Linked DNA regions of Homo sapiens: all the other regions are linked to region 1. The links are contacts of gene promoters, found by promoter capture Hi-C in blood cells and fetal thymus (Javierre and others, 2016). All regions are on one chromosome and are shown on one strand. The core of a region is centred on a gene start or on the middle of the fragment in contact, and the rest is flanking DNA. Distances in the headings are between cores, read along the strand shown. Region 1 holds the start of EVX1 (even-skipped homeobox 1). Region 2 overlaps JAZF1 (JAZF zinc finger 1). Region 3 overlaps JAZF1 (JAZF zinc finger 1). Region 4 overlaps JAZF1 (JAZF zinc finger 1). Region 5 overlaps JAZF1 (JAZF zinc finger 1).

Region 1 (3,607 bases), core at 831-3,330:
AAGAGAGCAAGCCAGGTGCTCCCTCAGGCTGTGGCTGCTGGTAGGGAGGACAGAGAAAGATAGAATACCTGGACAGCTCTCCAAGGCAGGAAAAGGTTCTAGGATTTGACTCCCCTCACTCCCAATTGATCCTCTCACCTCTAAAACATTTCCCTGGATTTTGGGGCTAGCAGTGCTCAGCATATAGTGGCTTCAGGAGTCCCAAGGAGTAGAAATATCTATGTGGACACTACCTTCCGGATCCCGCTGCCTCCGCCCCCAGGCAAGATTAATGAACATCGTCTTAGACTGAAAGAGAAGTGGAAAGCCGGAGTGAAGAGGAAACTTTGTCTTTCTTTGGACCCCTTACTTCCTCTACCTTCCTTAACCCTATGGATAGGAAGATGGAGGAGAGAAGCAAAGAAGGAGAAGAATACAGAAAGAGAAAAAGGAGGAGAGAAAAGTAGGAGATAACAGATAAAAAGGTCACGGAAGAGGACTTACCTGTAAAAGCTGGGGCTTTGCTAGGGACACAGAAAGGAGGGAGGTGCTGGGCTGCCCTTTGCAGCTGGCTGCCTAGGGCTAGAAGCTCTTCGGGAGGAGGCGGAGAAAGGGGGGTTGAGCATAGAAGGTGCCCACCTCCTGCTCTCAGCAATGTGGGGATAGACTCAGCCCACCCACCTGGCCCCAGCACACTTGCTTGGAGCTCAAAAAGGGTCAGTTTGAAGGAGTTTTATACCAGCTTCTTCCCTGGGAGAGGAGCCAAGAGAGGCCTATGGCAGCTTCCAGATATTAAGTTCCACAACCCCTGCCCCCACCTCCAGCCCTTCATCAGAGTCCCTACTTACTTGCTGTTTTAGGGCATTTTCAGCGACTTCACTCTCTTCTACCTCAAACGCCATCCACTTTTGGAGACAGGTACCACTGCCCCTAGGCAGGGACTTGGGAGAGGACCTTATGAGTCAAACCTCTATGAACCCCAACCTTTTTGTACTCGGGGAGGCTGAACCCCTGCCCAAAATAGCGCGGTGAAAGCTACTGCCTTCTCCCAAGTAGGGGCCTCCAGTACTGCCACAGCAGGGGCCGCATTCCTGGCGCCTCTTCATTCGAAAAACCTCTTTCCAGGAGACTTCGCTGATTCTGAACGAATACTTTAAAATATGGGCAAGGGAAAAAAAAAGACAACTCTTAGAAACTCTCCCCACCCAACATACCTGGAGTGCAGGCGAGGTCCAGGCAAACGGGAAAGCGACTTCTTGTACGAATAGCCATCTCAAGATGAAGCCAGGCTGTGGAAAACTTAAGGCCATCTAGATGGGAAGGAGGTATTTAAAAGAAATCAGCACACACTCTTACAGAAGCCAAGGCGGGTCTTTAAATTAAAAAATAATAATAAGGTATTTATTTCTTGCCCCTTAGGGAAGAAAAATAGCAAAGTTTGGTTCGCAGGAGTAAGGAGACAGAGGTGGGTAGGGAGAGGGAGGAGAAAAGAGGAAAAGATGGCCCAGCCTCAAGCTCTCCAGTCAACTTGGGGCGGGGGAATACATTTTTCCGTAGCTTGTAAAAAGACTTTTCAGCCAGTTTGAGGTTAGCTGCCAGGGGCAGACAGTTGTAATAATGCCGACAGAATTGAGGCTTGTAAGCCGGGCTTCACACTTCTAAAATGCAGTTATGGATTCTTTCATCGGTGTTAGATCAAGGCACCAAGTTAAGAAAACAAAAGTCAAAACAACAATAAAAGAAAAAATCAAAAGCTTATTTAATTACCGAGTCCCGCTGCCCCTGCGGAACTCGCCGCGCGCGTTAAGCTCTCTTTTCTTTCTGCGGAATTCCATTTGCATCCCCTCTGCCTGGGTGTCTCCCTCTCTCAGTGTGTGTGTCTCTCTGTCTGTTTTCACACTCTCCTCCCCAATCGAGCGAGGCCCACACCTGGCGCATCACTGCCGAGCCATTAGCTGCGGGTTTCCTTTCATCTTCGCTGTGGCAGACGTTTCTATTTATCCACTTGCGCTCGCCGAGTGGCGTCACCAGCGGTACTGTAATGACGATTGCAGCAGGAGGATGACAGCTTAGAAAGAAGAGGGCAATGGGGCTTCCTCCCAGAGGCGGTGCGGCACAGAGGAGCGCTCGCTTCACAAGGTGACCCTAGCTCCCACCGCCACCGCCGCGGTCGCGGTCCAGACCGCGCTCCAGCAGCTCCGCGCCCTCCCAGGCACCCGGCCTTTCTTTCTCCCTCTTGCAACCAAGATCCGTCCGGCCGCTGGAGACCCAGGGAGCCGGGGTTAGGAACTCACTTGGGGCTTTCCCCTCCCCCACCGGAGAGCCCCGGGATGGAGAGCCGAAAGGACATGGTTGTGTTTCTGGATGGGGGTCAGCTTGGCACTCTGGTTGGCAAGAGAGTCTCAAATTTGTCCGAAGCCGTGGGCAGCCCGCTGCCGGAGCCGCCCGAGAAAATGGTGCCCCGTGGTTGCCTGAGCCCTCGGGCCGTCCCTCCGGCCACCCGGGAGCGCGGCGGGGGAGGCCCGGAGGAGGAGCCGGTAGATGGACTCGCAGGCAGCGCGGCGGGGCCGGGCGCCGAGCCCCAGGTAGCTGGGGCGGCCATGCTCGGCCCAGGACCCCCGGCCCCCTCAGTCGACAGCCTCTCCGGACAGGGGCAACCCAGTAGCTCGGACACCGAGTCGGATTTCTATGAAGAAATCGAGGTGAGCTGCACCCCGGACTGCGCCACCGGGAACGCCGAGTACCAGCACAGCAAAGGTAGCCACCGTGCCCCTCCGCTCCCCGGGCCTCCCACTGCGCCCACCCTTCACTTCGGCGCAGGCCAGGAGGAAGACACTCCCTTCCCCTAGGGCAGGATGGCTGGGGGGACCCACCTGAGCAACTCTCTCTGCTATCTGCGTTCTGGCGGGGGTCTCCTACTGTGTTCTGGCATTGGCGGGACTGAGGGTGACAGCAGTGCCTTGAGTGCGGGGTGCTGAGGGGGCGGATGCAAGTCCTGGACTTGGGGGATTCGAAGCTCACCCCAAGCACCCAGTGTTTCAACTGCTCGGGGAATGCTTCAATTGCTCGGGGAAGACACTTTCCCCAGGCGAGGGCAAGATCAAACGCCGATCCGGGCAGTTTGTGGCTGGCAGGGTGTAAGAGGCATGGAGGCGCGGAAGCCAGGAGTCCATAAAGGACCGTAAAATTGCGGCCCACTTGGGCAGCCCGGGTGCTGCAGCCCTCCGACCAGTTTGCACGTCGGTCAGAGGTCCAAATTACCTTGTCACTTCCCGGGCTTCGCGGCGCCAGGTCGGAAATGGTCCCAATGGTCTAATTGCCTTTGGTCTCCGGTTGCATTTGAAAAGGCAGAGATCGGGTCCTCCCCCCTTCCCCTTTCCTTCCTAGTCCCACTTCTCCACCCAAAGGAAAAGGAGCTGCAGGGGGCTGGAGCCCCACCCTTCTCAGAGGTAGGCCCAAAGGGGGGCTGGTTTAACTGGAGAACCCCTCCCCACCAAAGGCTAATGGGAAAGGGGTGGATAGCCCGGAAGGGAGTTTCCCTCTGTGCCAACAATCACCTCCCCAGAAGGGGGTAGAAAACTGGGCGCGGGTTGGTGGGGGGGAGGAGAGGGGAGCCCACCAGCAGACA
Region 2 (3,607 bases), core at 633-3,132, 850 kb after region 1:
AGAGGCTTGGCCTGGCCTGGGTTTCTGTTCTGACACATCAGCTAACTTTTTTGCGACCCTATACACATTAATAACTTCTGTCTCCAAACTGTCATCTGCTGAAAAGCAGCCATTTATCTTACAGGAATGCCATGGGGGAAGAAGGAACCCAGTAGGCACCCAGCACTTGAAATTTTCTGGCAGAAGGAACATGGGCAAGCAGACCCGAAGCTTCTCCTTCCAGGCAAGAACACCTGCTTCACCTCCACTTATTCATGTTTTGCTTATGGTGCTTTTTAAAAATTATTATTTTTTATTTTTTTTGCCAGCTCAGCCCCACCCTGTGGCCAGAGGGGACCAAGGGCCGAGCTGCGCCTGCTCATGATGTTTTAACAATGCCCTCTTTCCTCCACTGCCCTCAATCGTCCTACCAAAGCTCCCTTAGTAAGACGACAAGGAGGAAACACACAGAAATACATGTGGAGTCCCAACAAGAAAGAAGCTCCATCCAGAAAAACTGGCACCCCAGAGAAGGGCACAGTCTCTATGCTTTGGCTTACCTGATACCCACATGTACCCCAAGGGTGTGCCATCTCCGAATCTGAGAAGCTCCCACAGCACCAAAGCCAAACCACTTTCAAGGCTCCACGCAACCTCTCCCATCTTATTCCCACAAGTCTTCAGTTTCATCCCAGTCCCTCTCTTCATTCTCCATCAAGAGCACCACAATCATTCTACATATTTGTTCACTCTGTTGGGCCTCCTAGGCAAGCCCTGTATTAGTCCATTTTTATACTGCTATGAAGAACTGCCCAAGACTGGGTTATTTATAAAGGAAAGAGGTTTAATTGTCTCACAGTTCAGCATTATCGGGGAGGCCTCAGGAAACTTACGATCATGGCGGATGGTGAAGGGGAAGCAAAACATGATCTTCACAAGCAGGGAGGAAGGAGAAGTGCCAAGTGAAGGGGGAGGAGCCCCTTACAAAGCCATCAGATCTTGTGAGAACTAACTCACTATCATGAGAACAGCATGGGGGAAACCACCCCCATGATTCAATTACCTACAGCTGGTCTCTCCTTTGACACGTGGGGATTATGGGGAGTATAATTCAAGATGAGATTTGGGTGGGTACACAAACCCTAACCATATCAAGTCCCTACCTCAAGGAGTTCTCTGGCTTTCTGCTCATCTTCAGTCCACCTGTCCTTCTAGCAGAGCCTCTGCTGCCTTCCAACAGGTAATCATGGTCCCCTCCGCTGAACGTCAAATCCCTGTGAGATCCTAAGAGGGCATCAGTCAGCTTAGGCTGCCATAACAGAATACCACAGCCAGAGTGGCCTGAACAACAGAAGCAATTCTGGAGGGCAGAAGTCCCAGATCAAGGCACCATCAGGACTGTTCTGCTGAGGCCTTGCTTCCTGGCTCATAGGCTGGCCCTCTTGCTGTGTCCTCACACGGCTGAGACGGAGAGCTCTGGTGCTCCTCCTCTTCTTATACTAGCACTAGCCTTTACTGGGCCCCAACCGTATGACTCATTTAACCTTCATCATCCCCTCAAAGGCTCCATCTCCAAATATCCTGGGGGTTAGGGCTTCAACATATGAAATTTGGGGGGGGCACAAACATTCCATAGCATCAAGGATGGCGTGAGACAGAAGACACTAAAAGGGAGAGGGATAAGCAGAACTGAGAGGGAGGCCACTGAAGAGAGAAGTGGGAGGCAGGGCCTCTGTCCGCTCTTGGAGTTGGAGAAAACAAGAATGAAGGGAACAAGAGGGCCAGTGGTTAGGGTTGTCCGAGAAGTTCTGTGGTGAGGAAAAAACTATGAGTAAAAGGCAACACTTTTGGTTATAAAGCACAATAAGCTATGACAAGAAGCAGTCCTTTGCTGTTAATTCTCTGAAGGTTAACTTGACTGGACCATATATGTCGGAAATGACCTTTCCCTTGTCATAAAAATAACTGAAACCCTTACAGACATAATGAAAATCTTACTATCCACTATTGAGCAAGGAAAAACATCTATAATCAAATTAAATATTTTGTCTTTTAAGTGCATTAGCAAAATGATTTACATAAGAACTACACTTTTCACATAATCATTCATGCATGTTGATAGACGATTCAAGGAAAAATTCATAAAACAGAACTGCAGCTCAAATCTGTTCTGAACAATTTATCTTCTTACTACAAGATGGCCAATAAGAGACTATTTTTTAACTTTTTCATTTGCAATTTTTTTTTTAATTCTCAAATTGCATCTATATCTCAAATAAAGTAATGGGAACATTCTAGCTCTGGGGTGTGGAAAAGCAGCCATGGCCGTGGGAAGCTGACTGCAAATGAAACACTGGCTTACACTGCCCTCTGCTGGTATACTGACCACATTTCAAGTTCCTTCGTTTTTACAAAGTTGCCAAAAGACGTTCAGTATTTTGAAACAGCAAATTCAAGCCTAATTACTAAGAACAGGTTGTGGAAAATATTACCAAGTGGCTTAAATGCCATCTGCACCACATCAGGCACACATTCCTAATGAAAAGGGCACATGTGTAGAAAGAAATGGTGCCAAATCACACCTGCTAACCTAATATAAAGGGTTTTTAACTAACTCTTTAAAATATGCATTAAGTTAACAATAATGCCTTTAAATCACCCCCCACCCCCACTTTCCCACCCAACCTCTGCCACACTAACCAACTTTTCAGAAAACAAATATTGCAAAAAATGAAATCTTGGCTCCCACCACTGCATTTGGGCCTCTGCTTAAATCAGCTCAGCAATAAATAACTGCATGTTACCACAGTTTACAAAATTCATTTTCTAAGTACAGACTTTTTTTTTAAATTTAGATGCTGCTAATTTGCCAGAATGTTGCTGGAAAACATGCCATTTGTTTAAACACATACAACATCAGCCTCCATTAAAATGATTACAGCATCAATTCAAAAGTCTGAAGCATTTATTAGGTGTCTCTAATTCCACAGAGCCTTTTACTAAGCCCTGTATAAATTAGTTAAGCCAAATTCCTGCCTCAGAGCTTGTTTCCTAAAATAGATGAAGTCACACACATTGATACAATAGAACAACACAGGTACATTAACTTAAGTGAATGGACCTACATTGTGTTCTGAAGCAAGAAATGGGAGAGCTGAAGGAGCTGGATATATAAAGGGTGGGGCAAGAAGAAATCACAGCTGTCTACGAATCAGTCAGCAAGTCCTTTGGGAGGAGGTGGGATTTCAGGTAGCTGAATGAAGGGGAAGGTTCGGGGAGCTAAAAAGAAAGGTGGCAGCCACAGGCCTGCTAGAGTCTGGGAGGTCATTTTGCATGTAGAAATGGGAGGGTGACAGGAAAGAGGTAAATCTTGGAAATGCCATGACTCCCAGCAGCCACACAGCAATCTGCTTTAACCAAACCCAGAACACTATGCACTTCTGCACAGGGGTGCCCAGCTCCAGGCTACTCATTAAATTCTCAAACCATTCCATAACGTAGTTATTATTATTAAATCTCATGATGAAACTGAAGCACACAAAACGGAACATTTTGTCTCTAGACCCCAGAAACCTTAAGCTTGCTACTATGGACTGAATGTCTGTGTCCCCTTAAATTCCTATGTTGA
Region 3 (3,607 bases), core at 312-2,811, 800 kb after region 1:
TTCAGGTGAAAGAAAACATACAGCCTATAAACTTTGGGATGGGGGAATGATTGTGGCAAATAGCTTCTCACTGTGCTTGTATTAGCATAACTAGTAGATATAAGCTCATTTTTCAGGGTTTTATGATTCTGACACTATAAATCCAAAGTAGACTTGAACTTGTTAAGTACATGATTCATATAATTTTGTTTACATAACTGAACTAAAGAAAGGAAGACAAGATAAAAATTCTACTACGGAATTTGTTGTTTTCTTTCAAGCATTTACAAATATTAGAGATAATCTTCCTTTTTATTTAAACAAAACTGTTTAACATCTGCTTTTTATAATATTGTTATTTCTTGTGAACATTCAGGTTTGAAACTCTTGTTCCCAAGAATTACTTGCAAATATCACATAACTAAAATTCCAAAAAAAGAAGCATGCACACACCCCATAACTCCAGCAAATCCTTGATTAACTGAAAGTCAAAACCCAACCAAACAGAATTCCAGATGAGCTGAAGCTTTTCCTTTCCATATGACTTTTATAAGAAAGTAGGAAACTACAAAAAAGATACAAATTTATTTAAAGCAAAAGATTTGCTGAACATATCGGTAGTTTAGTACATATTCAGCTTCACTGTCCATGCTTGGTATAAAGTATTGTACAAAAAACCATGCTCATGATGAGGTATGAACTGTTCCTTTTATCTCTACCTCAAATTCTTTTGTGGAACAAAGCAGAATGTAAGCAGGTATTATCTTTTATCTCTACAACTTTAATGCTTAGCACATTGATTAGACCTGCATACTAAAATATTTGTGTTAACAAATTAATAAAGAGTGGCAAATTAGAGGCAAAGCATGCTAAATTTAAAAAGATTCATGATTGCTCTGCATATGGAACGTAAGCTCATAGCATCTTAAGGTTTAAAGAGACCTTGGAGACTTACTTAGCCCTCCTTGGTGCAGGGCTCCTCCAAGAACATTCTAATGTTTTAAAAAATGCTTTGGTATTAGCTACCATATTGGGAACACACGCACATGCGCACGTGCATACAAACACACACACACACCCCTTATTATTTCAGTCTTATGAGATAGATGTATTTATCTTGCAACCGGGGAAACTGAGGTTCAGGAAGTGACAGAGGGAAGACAAGGAAGAAGAAAAAGTCAGAAAGAAGTGTAACATGTTTTTGCCAATTCTTTTCTATGGTCTAAGATCCAAGAATAAGTAAGAAATTAATCAGACAAGATGAAAATGTGCCTCCCCTGCCCCATGCAAATACCAATATTATAACTGACTTACTGAGATATATGAAGCTAAGATAGTCCCTGGAACACACTACACACATAAATGTTAGCTTCCTTTCTTTTCAGTATGTTACAGCATCTTGGGGACAAGTAAAGATATTTAGGACCCATTCTCAACTCTGAAAATTTTGGAATTATCGCATAACTAAAGAGAGTTATGAGGAATGCTAAAACCCTTTCCCCTAAGAATAATCAGTGTAATTGTGTTTCTTACTTTAATTTAAAATTCAACGTGTATATGTCTCCTTCCCCCCGCCCCAAGGATATAAATAACTGGAATGACTGAATACAGCACAAAATACAGACGTGGGGAAAGGGTGGCAGTTTTAACTTTGAAATTCACTATACTTGTCAGTTAAAGTCAGGCCTAAAGCATTAATTTATTCTGAAACATTAATTAACTGGAGCTTTTTTGCATTTAATTTTCTCTGGCATTTTGGAATTTATTCTAAGCCCTGTGGAAATGGCAGGTCTGATGTTATTAAAGTTAGCCTTTCAGAAAGTCCTCAAACTGAAGACTCCTACACATTAAAAAATGCTGAGAGTCCAGATAATGCAAACCTAAAGTATTATTAAAGGGTATTCTTTACACATGAAAGAAAAACCTTACGTTTATTAAAAATGAATTAAACTGTCAGAAGTCTTCAATTTTACATAATGTTTGAGCCCTTTAAACACATAAAAAAAATCTAAAGCCAGTTTCATTTTTTTATTCATTCATTCACCCACTCCTTTAAGAATCTGTTGAGTGCCAACTATGTGCCAGGCAGATACTGCTCCAAGTGGGGCAAGCAAGGTCCTGTTCTTGTGCAGTTTACAATCTAGATGGGAAAATAACAAACAACAAATATGTAAGAAAATATCGAAGAGAGATGAGTACTATAAAGAAAATTAAAGAGTAATGTAATCAAGAGTGACTGGTAAGGCCTCTGTGAAGAGGAAGAACTTATGTCAAGTCCTAAATGATCAGCAGTTGGCTACACAAAGTCTGGGGGTAAACATCTCAGAGAGAGGGATACACGGTGCCACAGTGGGGAGGTGGGAATGAGCCAGACAGGTGTGAGGAGGAGGAAGGCAGCCATAGAGTCTAGGCCACCCGGCAGATGAGGGTGTCGGGGTGTAGAAGTGTGTTTGGTGGGATCAAGAGTTGTATTTTGGACATATGGAGTTTTAGATACCCACTTAAAAGAATGGTATGATAAAACACTAATGTACAGCAATTCCATGATCGCCCAGAGTTAAGAGAGGAATTGGGAATGGAATTCAGAGATGGATGCCAGTGACTGCAGCGACGTAAGGTAGAAGACCACAATTCTCTAACAAGCTTTATCCCAAGAATCACTTTAGATATTCCATTTAATCGGCTAATATTTAATTTAATATGCCCCAAATTCAACATAGCAGACACTATGTTCCTTAATGTTCTATTAAGGAAAGGAAGAAGACCCATCTAGAAACCACAGAGATTATTTCTATTACATAGATAACACAGTGTGCTCTCAAAGACACAAATTCTTTCAGAAATGCATATAAATGGGTGCCCTAGATATATGTGGCAAAATTTTTTAAAAATTAAAATGTGTGTAATCAGAGAGAGTATTTGGAGAACGTAAGAGCAAAAGGCTTTCTAGGGGTGGTTCACAACACAAATAACTATTGTTTACCTGGAGAATGTGTGTTTGAGCCCAGTTCTGTGCATGTCTGCATGGGTGTGAGTGCACGAGTGTGTATGATTTGATATTGCTGACGGTGGAGGGAGGGAAGTTCACCCTCTTTCCAAGTCAGATTGCCCAAATGATTATACCTCCTTGCTTGGGATGCTTTGAGCTTGACTTTAGATGGATAAATAGTTTATAATTTGGTATAAGCTATTTTTTAAAAGGTGACATTTTTTAAAAGGTATGGGAAAAATGAAACTAGACATCTTGCTATGCAAATTTCTGAGGCAGCACAGAATTCCATGGCCACATCTACTTCCCAAGACACAGCCTTCCAGAAGCCAGTGAGATATCACCGCTTCTTGTGCCTCTTTACTTTCCAAGACATGTTTGTGTCTGAGCCTCATCAGCCTAAGGGCAAGACCTACATACTTCAGATGATTTGCATTGATGGGTTATGACTATAATACATACCAGAGTTAACAATCTTGATTCCAAGTCTCCTTGACTACATTTGGGAAAGGGCCACCTTACTTTTTATTAATAAATCTTCAGAGAATTCCCCTGTACGCAGCTGTCTGAGATACTCATCTTGAGTATCTCAGAAACAGTATTTCTCATACCCACAAATGCTACTCATGACTAAGTTCT
Region 4 (3,607 bases), core at 398-2,897, 780 kb after region 1:
GACTGTTTTCTATGAAACCCAGTCTCAAAGACCTAAGGATATGCTCAGATAAATCAGACAGCATTGAACAATATCGTCACAACAATATTTTCTAAGAGATTTGTTAAGAAAATTGGGTTTTCATCTGAATTTCTCCATATTATGTAACTTTCCCACTTCTTAAGCATAGCTTTCAAAAACACACCATGGCAGCACTGCCCTTAACTGCTTTTCCAGAAAAAATCTTTTCAAATTTCCACCAAAAGAATGCAGTTGGCACCACCTTTTCCTGACCGTTCTAACAAATGGATAAACTTTGCTGCAATGAGACAGTTTAGGACAACATCTGCTCCTATCTGCCAACAAAGTTCAGCTGTGGCTTCTGACACTAGGGGAAGAAAATCTCTTCCTTTAAAAAATAATAACATTTATACTTTTTTGTTGATCAAAAATAACAGATGACTACAGAAAAAGTGGAAAATCTAGAAAATTATAAAAAACAAGTTACCCATAATCAACTATCCAAACATAGTTCAGGCTGTGCATTTTACTATATCCTTTACTATTCTCTTAGTCTTCTTTGCATATATATTTTTAAAATGGAGTCAGTCTTATCTTTTCACTTATTATACCTGAAGATTTTCTTTAATATTTCACTGTTGTTGTTGTTTTTGTTGTTGTTTGTTTGTTTTGAGATGGAGTCTCTGTTGTCCAGGCTGGAGTGCAACGGCATGATCTTGGCTCACTGCAACCTCCGCTGCCCAGGTTCAAGTGATTCTCGTGTCTCAGCCTCCCGAGTAGCTGGGATTACAGGCACGTGCCACCATATTTCACTTTGTAAAAAATTACCAAATTACATAAAGCTGTGCTGGATGTCAGGCAGTATTGAAAGAGATGTGAGGTGAAGTCTTTATTCTCTAGAGGTCGGTGCTTCGTGAGGATACAAGACAAACACACAGGAAAAACAAATAATGGTATACAATAATGATGGTATACAAGAATGACTTAAGACAGGGGTAGTACAAACAACGTCTGTGAGGTTCACACCTAGATGAGATTACCATGGCCTAGAATGGCCTTGCAAGGACTCCATGAAGGAAGACAGAAACGAGTCCAGCCGTGAAGCATTGTAGTTCTATAGAAAATTTTGAAGTGATAATGACTAATTTACCTCCCTTTCTCCAATATACCGAAGGACAGATTCACTGAAGTAATTTCCCTTGCTAAGCCTTTGCTCTTATGGACAAAGCTGAGCTCCCACAAAAGCTGTTTTTCAAATATCATAAATGAGGATGTAAGTAATTCGAAACGATTTTCCAATTATGTTTGCATTCATGAGGAAAACTAAGGTTTTAAGAGAAAATAAAAAAGGTTATCTGAAGAATTAGAAGTGAATTCTGAAATTCCAGATTCCTGGTGTCTAAATAACACATAATACAAGAATTAGCAAGAATCTACTCCACACATGATATTGAAACTTGGAACCACTTAACAACCAAGCTTAATTCCTAGGACAGACCTTCCTGCTTAACCTGTATTCATCCACTCATCCATTCAGGAAATACTGTTAAGTATTTTAGAATGCGTGTTAATGAGTCCAGCACTGGGCTAGGCGCTAAGGCAAAGTGAACCATACGGACAGGTTCCTGCCCTCATGGAGTGGACAGTTTTAGTAAGAGAGAGGCTGACAGGTAGACAGACAATGACAGCCCAATGTAATAAATGCTTGGTAAATTAAGCTACCTTAAGGACTTATAGATGCTATAGATATAAATGCTTCATTAAGAAATGAGCACCTAGAAAAAACACTATATTAACCTACACTTGGAAAATTAGGAAAGCTTCTTAGAATAGATAACATTTAAGTTTAAGGAAGAAGAGCAGAAAGTCAGGAGCGGCAGTAAAAGAAATATCTAGGGCTAGGCACAGTGGCTCATGCCTGACATGCTAGCACTTTGGGAGGCCAAGGTGGGAGGATTGCTTGAGGTCAGGACTTCAAGACCAACCTGGGCAGCATAGCAAGACCCATCTCTAAAAAAAAAAAATAAAATAAAAAATTTAAAAATGAATATGGTGGCACCACCTGTAGTCCCAGCTACTCAGGAGGTTGCGGCGGAAGGACTGCTTAAGCCCACGAGGTTGAGGCTGCAGTGAGATGTAATCACGCCACCACATTCCAGTTTGGGTGATAGAACAAGACTCTGTCACAAAAAGAAAAACAAAGAGAGAGAGAGAGATGTTTAAGAAGAGAGAACAGCATATTAAAAGTTCTAAGGGAGAGAAAAAAACATGGTGAAAGAGTGGAAAAAAGATATTCAGAATGGCTGGGTCCAAGGGTGGAGAAAGGAGGATTTTGGTGAGCTAGAGGTATGCACATACATAACCAGGTGTGGGCATGTGTGTATACACACATACTCATTTAGACCTCAAAACAATCCTCCCATAATTATCATCATTTTGAAGATGAGGAAACAGGTATGAGAACACTAGTTGGTGATAAACAATAAGTAGCCAAAGGACCCTGAATGGAAGAGGGACATGATGAATTTTGCATCTCTGGCAAAATACCAATGATGCAGTGTAGAGAATGCTTTGGAAGATAGGAAGTGATGATAAAATCTTTATTAAGCTTCCCAGAGAGATTAAAGGGCTCACTTTCTGTCATCTGACATGCCATGCCCTGAGCCTGCAACTTGAGAGATCATGAAACGCAGACAGAACCTTTTCCTTCAAGGAGTTTATAATCTACCAGGGGCAACAAGCATATTGGGACACTGGGTGCTCTCTGTATTGCTTGACAAGGATTCCATAGACCAACTACTTTCTAAAGCACCATGACCAGCAGAATCATAGACTGAGGTTCCTTCTTTGAAAGACAGCCAAGCTTCTTGCAGGAAGAGAAAGCCCTGACCACAGGGAAACAGTGACCACAGCTACAGCCCAAGCTCTTCTCTGGGTCTGACAAACTCAGGACAATGGTTCTGTTCCCTAACACCTTTCTATAATCCCCAATCCTAACCTGGTGACCCAGCAACAATGTCCGTTGAGTGTCCAGGGCTGTTACTGGCTTAGTCACACTCTTCCCCTCTTGGGGTTTAGCTACTTTGTCACCTCCCTGCTGGAGAAATGCCACTTACCAATGATAGTGTTAAAGAACATTTGTCCTCATACTTAACAACAACCCAGTCAACCCTTTATTCTACTTTCTTCAAAGCTATGAGTAAGAAAGAGAAATTAAACTAAAATTTTCAGTGTAGGTAATACGTTCTCCATACAGCAACATCGTATCTAAATCCTTACAACCACCACCATGAGAAAAAGATGTGCTTGTCCTCACAAAACATGAAAACACGGGAAAAGGTAAATAGACTTGCTTTGGTCCACATGGCTAAATAAGAGCATAAGCAGTCTTCAAACCCAGTTCTGACTCCAAGGCCAGCCTCATTCTACTATGTTATTTAATTTTTCAGAAGTAAAATACGTCATTTAAAAACATACTATCTTTCTCAAGTTGGCAGTTAACGTGTTTGCTACAGAAGATTGGTCAAGAAACCAATCAGGGGTTTAAAATCCGACTTTGAAATTATATCCTCAACTCTTAAACCTTCATTTATGGTTCAGTGGTGTA
Region 5 (3,607 bases), core at 517-3,016, 720 kb after region 1:
TCCATCATGGGTATCAAAGGTTTACTGTCATCACCTAGAGGCAGAAGGCTATATGCTGGTCCAGGACTTTGGCACTGGAGAGACCTGAGTTCAAATCCCAGCTCCACTAGTGGTGAGTAACCTTTTTGAGCTCTGTTACCTTATCTATAAAATGAAGATGGCATCTCAGCCATAATAATAGATTATTTAAATAGTGATCATAAACACTCTTTGCTTTTTCATATCAACTTTTGTTTGATGTGAATTCTTGAGAGTCTTCATGTACAACAACACGATTCACTGCAGTATGGATATTCTCACTTAATTTATTGAATATTTACCAAAAACAAGACTAACTGTACACAAGAGGAAATACACATAGGTAAGAAGTATGAAATCATTTTCCTCAACATTTTCTGATTGTAGATGTGCCTTTGTTGATGTTATGTTAAAAAAGGGTAAAAGTGATCATAGTAATATTCAGGAAATTACCCTGACAACCATACCCATTAAGTGTTAGGAAGGCCAAGCCTCACAGTTCATATGCATCACTTATGAAAAGTTTATCCAACTGGCTCTCATGGCTGGGTGATTCACAGTCTTCCCCAATCCACAGAGAGTCAAGACTTGCTTTTCTAAAAACAGAAAGCTTTCATGCTAATCCTGGAATCTCTGAGGGACAAGAGAAGCCAAAGGGATCAGTCCTTGTATTTTATAAATGGTGGATACAAGTTATATTTGGAATCCCATATTGAATGCAGAACTAACAAATCCATAGAGGAAAGGCAGTAGGCTTTGCCAGCCCATAAATTAATTACCTTTAATGGCCAGGCTTAGGGTAAAAGCAAGAAGATATGCAAGGGCTTCCCTATCTGCTGCTTTCATTTTGTATTTAGTCCTGGAATTAAAATCACGTCTAATCAGCAAGAAAAGCAGTTGTTTTAAAAACAGTAACATGCTGAGGGGAGAATTTCCCCTGATATTCTAGGGAATTTGAACTTTGGCCCTTGCTGTGGAATAATCCTACATATGCCTTTCTGAAATACACTGCAAATCTTTTTTGTCCTTGTTAAATGAATAGACTGAAGCTCTGAAGCTTAACAGAAATGATCTACCCACTATCCCTCCTTTTAAAACTTCACTGTGTGGGGTTAGCATTCACCTGTTTAATAAACTCAGCAAGCTGAACATGGCAAACCTTCATTATTAGGGAATCTGAATTCCAAATTCAGATTGTGCTGCAAAGTTTAATTCTTTGGGATGGATTTTCTGTGAATGAAGGGGAATACATAATAATACAGAATTTTCTGGGGAATATGTTCTCATGTATACTACGTTACAATTTGGCATACAGCATTCTGCAAACATTTTCTATTTAAGTCAAGGACAATTTTAGGAGTATGGTAATAATCATGTTCCTCCATATCACAGTTAAATTTCAATTAACTTTAAATTGGAAACAATGTAGCTTTGGAGCTCTCTTTCCAACTGTTAAGAGGATCAGAGCAAATGCTTGGATGAGGAAAAAAAACTACTCTTTTATTTCATTCCAAATTCAAAATTGCCATGCTTGTTCCCTATGATTACTCATATTAAGTTATAATGGTAAATTGGGGGTAGCTGTCAATCCTGGGGTCTTGCACATTGTTGTGATGTGTCACAAACATTCAAATAATTGCACAAATGATAGCAAATGGATCAATGTTTGCAATTCCCCCCCCCCCTTTTTTTTTGGAGACAGGGTCTTGCTCTGTCATCTAGGCTGGAGTGCAGTGGTGCAATCACAGTTCACTGCAGCCTTGATCTCCTGGCCTCAAGTGATCCTCCTACCTCAGCCTCCCGAGTAGCTGAGACTGTAGGTGCACGTCACCACACCGGTTTTGTTTTGTTTTGTTTTGTTTTGGTAGAGGCAAGGTCTTGCTACATTGCCCAGGCTGATTTCAAACTCCTGGGATCAAGCAATTCTCCTACCTTGGGCTCCCAAAGTGCTGGGATTAAGGCATGAGCCAACATGCCAGGCAATGGCTCCATTTTTAATAAACTGAAGTAGATTGAAGATTAAAGGGCTGGATGTAAGCAGCACTTTCTTTTAACACAATTTCTTCAATGAAGAATGAGGACAACATCTGAATTGGTTGCTTATATACCTATATACCCATAATATAGTGATGGCAATTGTGAATTTCTCTAGTGCTTCCATTATACCCTCTTCCTCCAACATGTTTTGGGATTTAGTAAAAAGACTAAGTTTTCCCTTGGAAATGTTTAATGAATATTATCATCCAAAACACACAAAAATTGTTACAAAAATTGGAAACTCACTGGTAAATAGCATTGTAACATCTGTATCCTTTTTCCCCAGTCCAACCACTTCTGAGAAAAGGTTCTATGAAAATGATCTAAAGGGAAAAAGATCCATTAGGTGGATCTTTTTTGGAACAATGAAAAATGTTTGCTTCAGTGTAATTTATAATAATGAAAGCTTGTAAGCAGCCATCATGACGAAATGAAGGGCATGTTTCGGTGAACTCTATCTTATGGAATATTATGTGGCCACTAAAACAGTAATTTTGAAGATGCAGCAACATGGAGAATGCTCATGATACAATAGTTAAATGTATGACCCAATTAGAATCTTGCCACAGATGCTTATAAAATTAGAATGGGACTCAAAAAATTGAACCACTGAACCTAAAATATTGTACAAGAATGGGTACAATATAAATGATCCACCCCTACCACCAAAACCATTTTCAAAGCTTACTTTTTACTATTTCCCTAATAATCAGAAAAAGTTTTTTTTTTTAAAATGGCTGACACAGTATATTACGTTTTTAAAAAGAAGTCAAGCAGAAGATGACCAAGGAAATCAAAGGAAAAAAGAACCAACATATTTTGGTAGTCATGAATCTTACCAAAGGCTAGTTGGGTCACCTCAGATGCCAACAATGGTAACTCATGAATCTGTTAGTCCTTAAAATATTGGCTAAAATGGTCAAACTAATCTCAATAAAAGTCATTTTAAAAAGAAAGAGAGCAAGAGAGATGCCTTTCCCAGTATATCTTGTGATCTGGAATTTATTGCGGTATCTGTGACAGAGAAGAGTGTATGTTCGCATGTGTTTCTTTTTTCTAACATTATCAGCATGAGAATGACTAGAAATGAGCTGTAGGTTTTTCAGAAGTCAAGACAGCTGCGACAGCTACAGGGTTTCATTTATAGATACTGACACTGCATATTTCAGTATATATCAGACACAAAGGTTAAAATATGTACATACTGTTCTTCAGCATAAAATCTAAGCAAAGATCTTAACTCTTGACAGCACCAAAATGTTGCTCTTACTTTTTCCAGTCATTGTACACCCAACATACTTTATTCCCCGATATTTATAACACAAATAAGCAAACAAAAAATCAGGCATCTAATCAAAATGCATCCATTCTATATTCAAAGTCTAAGAAAGTAAAACTGGTGACAGGTATTAAAAGAAGATCTGAACATGTTTATTTTTATAGTCAAGTTGTCTCACAAAGCATAGATACATATGTTTTCCTTATAGCTAATATTAACACACATAAATGTCTTTCACTTAAGTCTTCTGACATCCCAAAATTACTGCTTGAG

What was found. The method cuts DNA at HindIII sites, captures the fragments that hold promoters and counts their contacts. A CHiCAGO score of 5 or more calls a contact.
Region 2: a contact is called between a fragment that was not itself captured here and the fragment with the promoter of EVX1 in region 1, in 1 of 17 cell types (naive CD4 T cells). The highest score is 5.1, in naive CD4 T cells.
Region 3: a contact is called between a fragment that was not itself captured here and the fragment with the promoter of EVX1 in region 1, in 1 of 17 cell types (fetal thymus). The highest score is 5.2, in fetal thymus.
Region 4: a fragment that was not itself captured here is called in contact with the fragment with the promoter of EVX1 in region 1 in 2 of 17 cell types (fetal thymus and megakaryocytes); the score reaches 6.3 in fetal thymus.
Region 5: a fragment that was not itself captured here is called in contact with the fragment with the promoter of EVX1 in region 1 in 1 of 17 cell types (megakaryocytes); the score reaches 5.1 in megakaryocytes.

The regions. Positions count from the first base shown.
Region 1 is chr7:27,240,722-27,244,328 of GRCh38, forward strand. EVX1 (even-skipped homeobox 1) reads left to right here and starts at 2,081. Exons shown (of 3, transcript NM_001989.5): 1 at 2,081-2,736. The coding sequence starts at 2,310. EVX1-AS (EVX1 antisense RNA) reads right to left here. Exons shown (of 4, transcript NR_120507.1): 2 at 1,194-1,289; 3 at 828-920; 4 at 708-729. RefSeq lists an enhancer at 1,699-2,576. The HindIII fragment of the contact is 5,233 bases long and covers 1,732-3,607 here.
Region 2 is chr7:28,094,477-28,098,083 of GRCh38, forward strand. The region is part of intron 1 of JAZF1 (JAZF zinc finger 1); the gene reads right to left. Among named protein-coding and RNA genes, the nearest start is that of JAZF1-AS1, 84 kb to the right of the region's middle. The HindIII fragment of the contact is 3,348 bases long and covers 209-3,556 here.
Region 3 is chr7:28,038,232-28,041,838 of GRCh38, forward strand. All of the region lies in intron 1 of JAZF1 (JAZF zinc finger 1), which reads right to left. All of the region lies in intron 2 of LOC105375208 (a long non-coding RNA gene), which reads left to right. Among named protein-coding and RNA genes, the nearest start is that of JAZF1-AS1, 140 kb to the right of the region's middle. The HindIII fragment of the contact is 2,117 bases long and covers 504-2,620 here.
Region 4 is chr7:28,022,108-28,025,714 of GRCh38, forward strand. The region is part of intron 1 of JAZF1 (JAZF zinc finger 1); the gene reads right to left. Among named protein-coding and RNA genes, the nearest start is that of JAZF1-AS1, 160 kb to the right of the region's middle. The HindIII fragment of the contact is 341 bases long and covers 1,478-1,818 here.
Region 5 is chr7:27,961,867-27,965,473 of GRCh38, forward strand. All of the region lies in intron 2 of JAZF1 (JAZF zinc finger 1), which reads right to left. Among named protein-coding and RNA genes, the nearest start is that of JAZF1-AS1, 220 kb to the right of the region's middle. The HindIII fragment of the contact is 1,386 bases long and covers 1,074-2,459 here.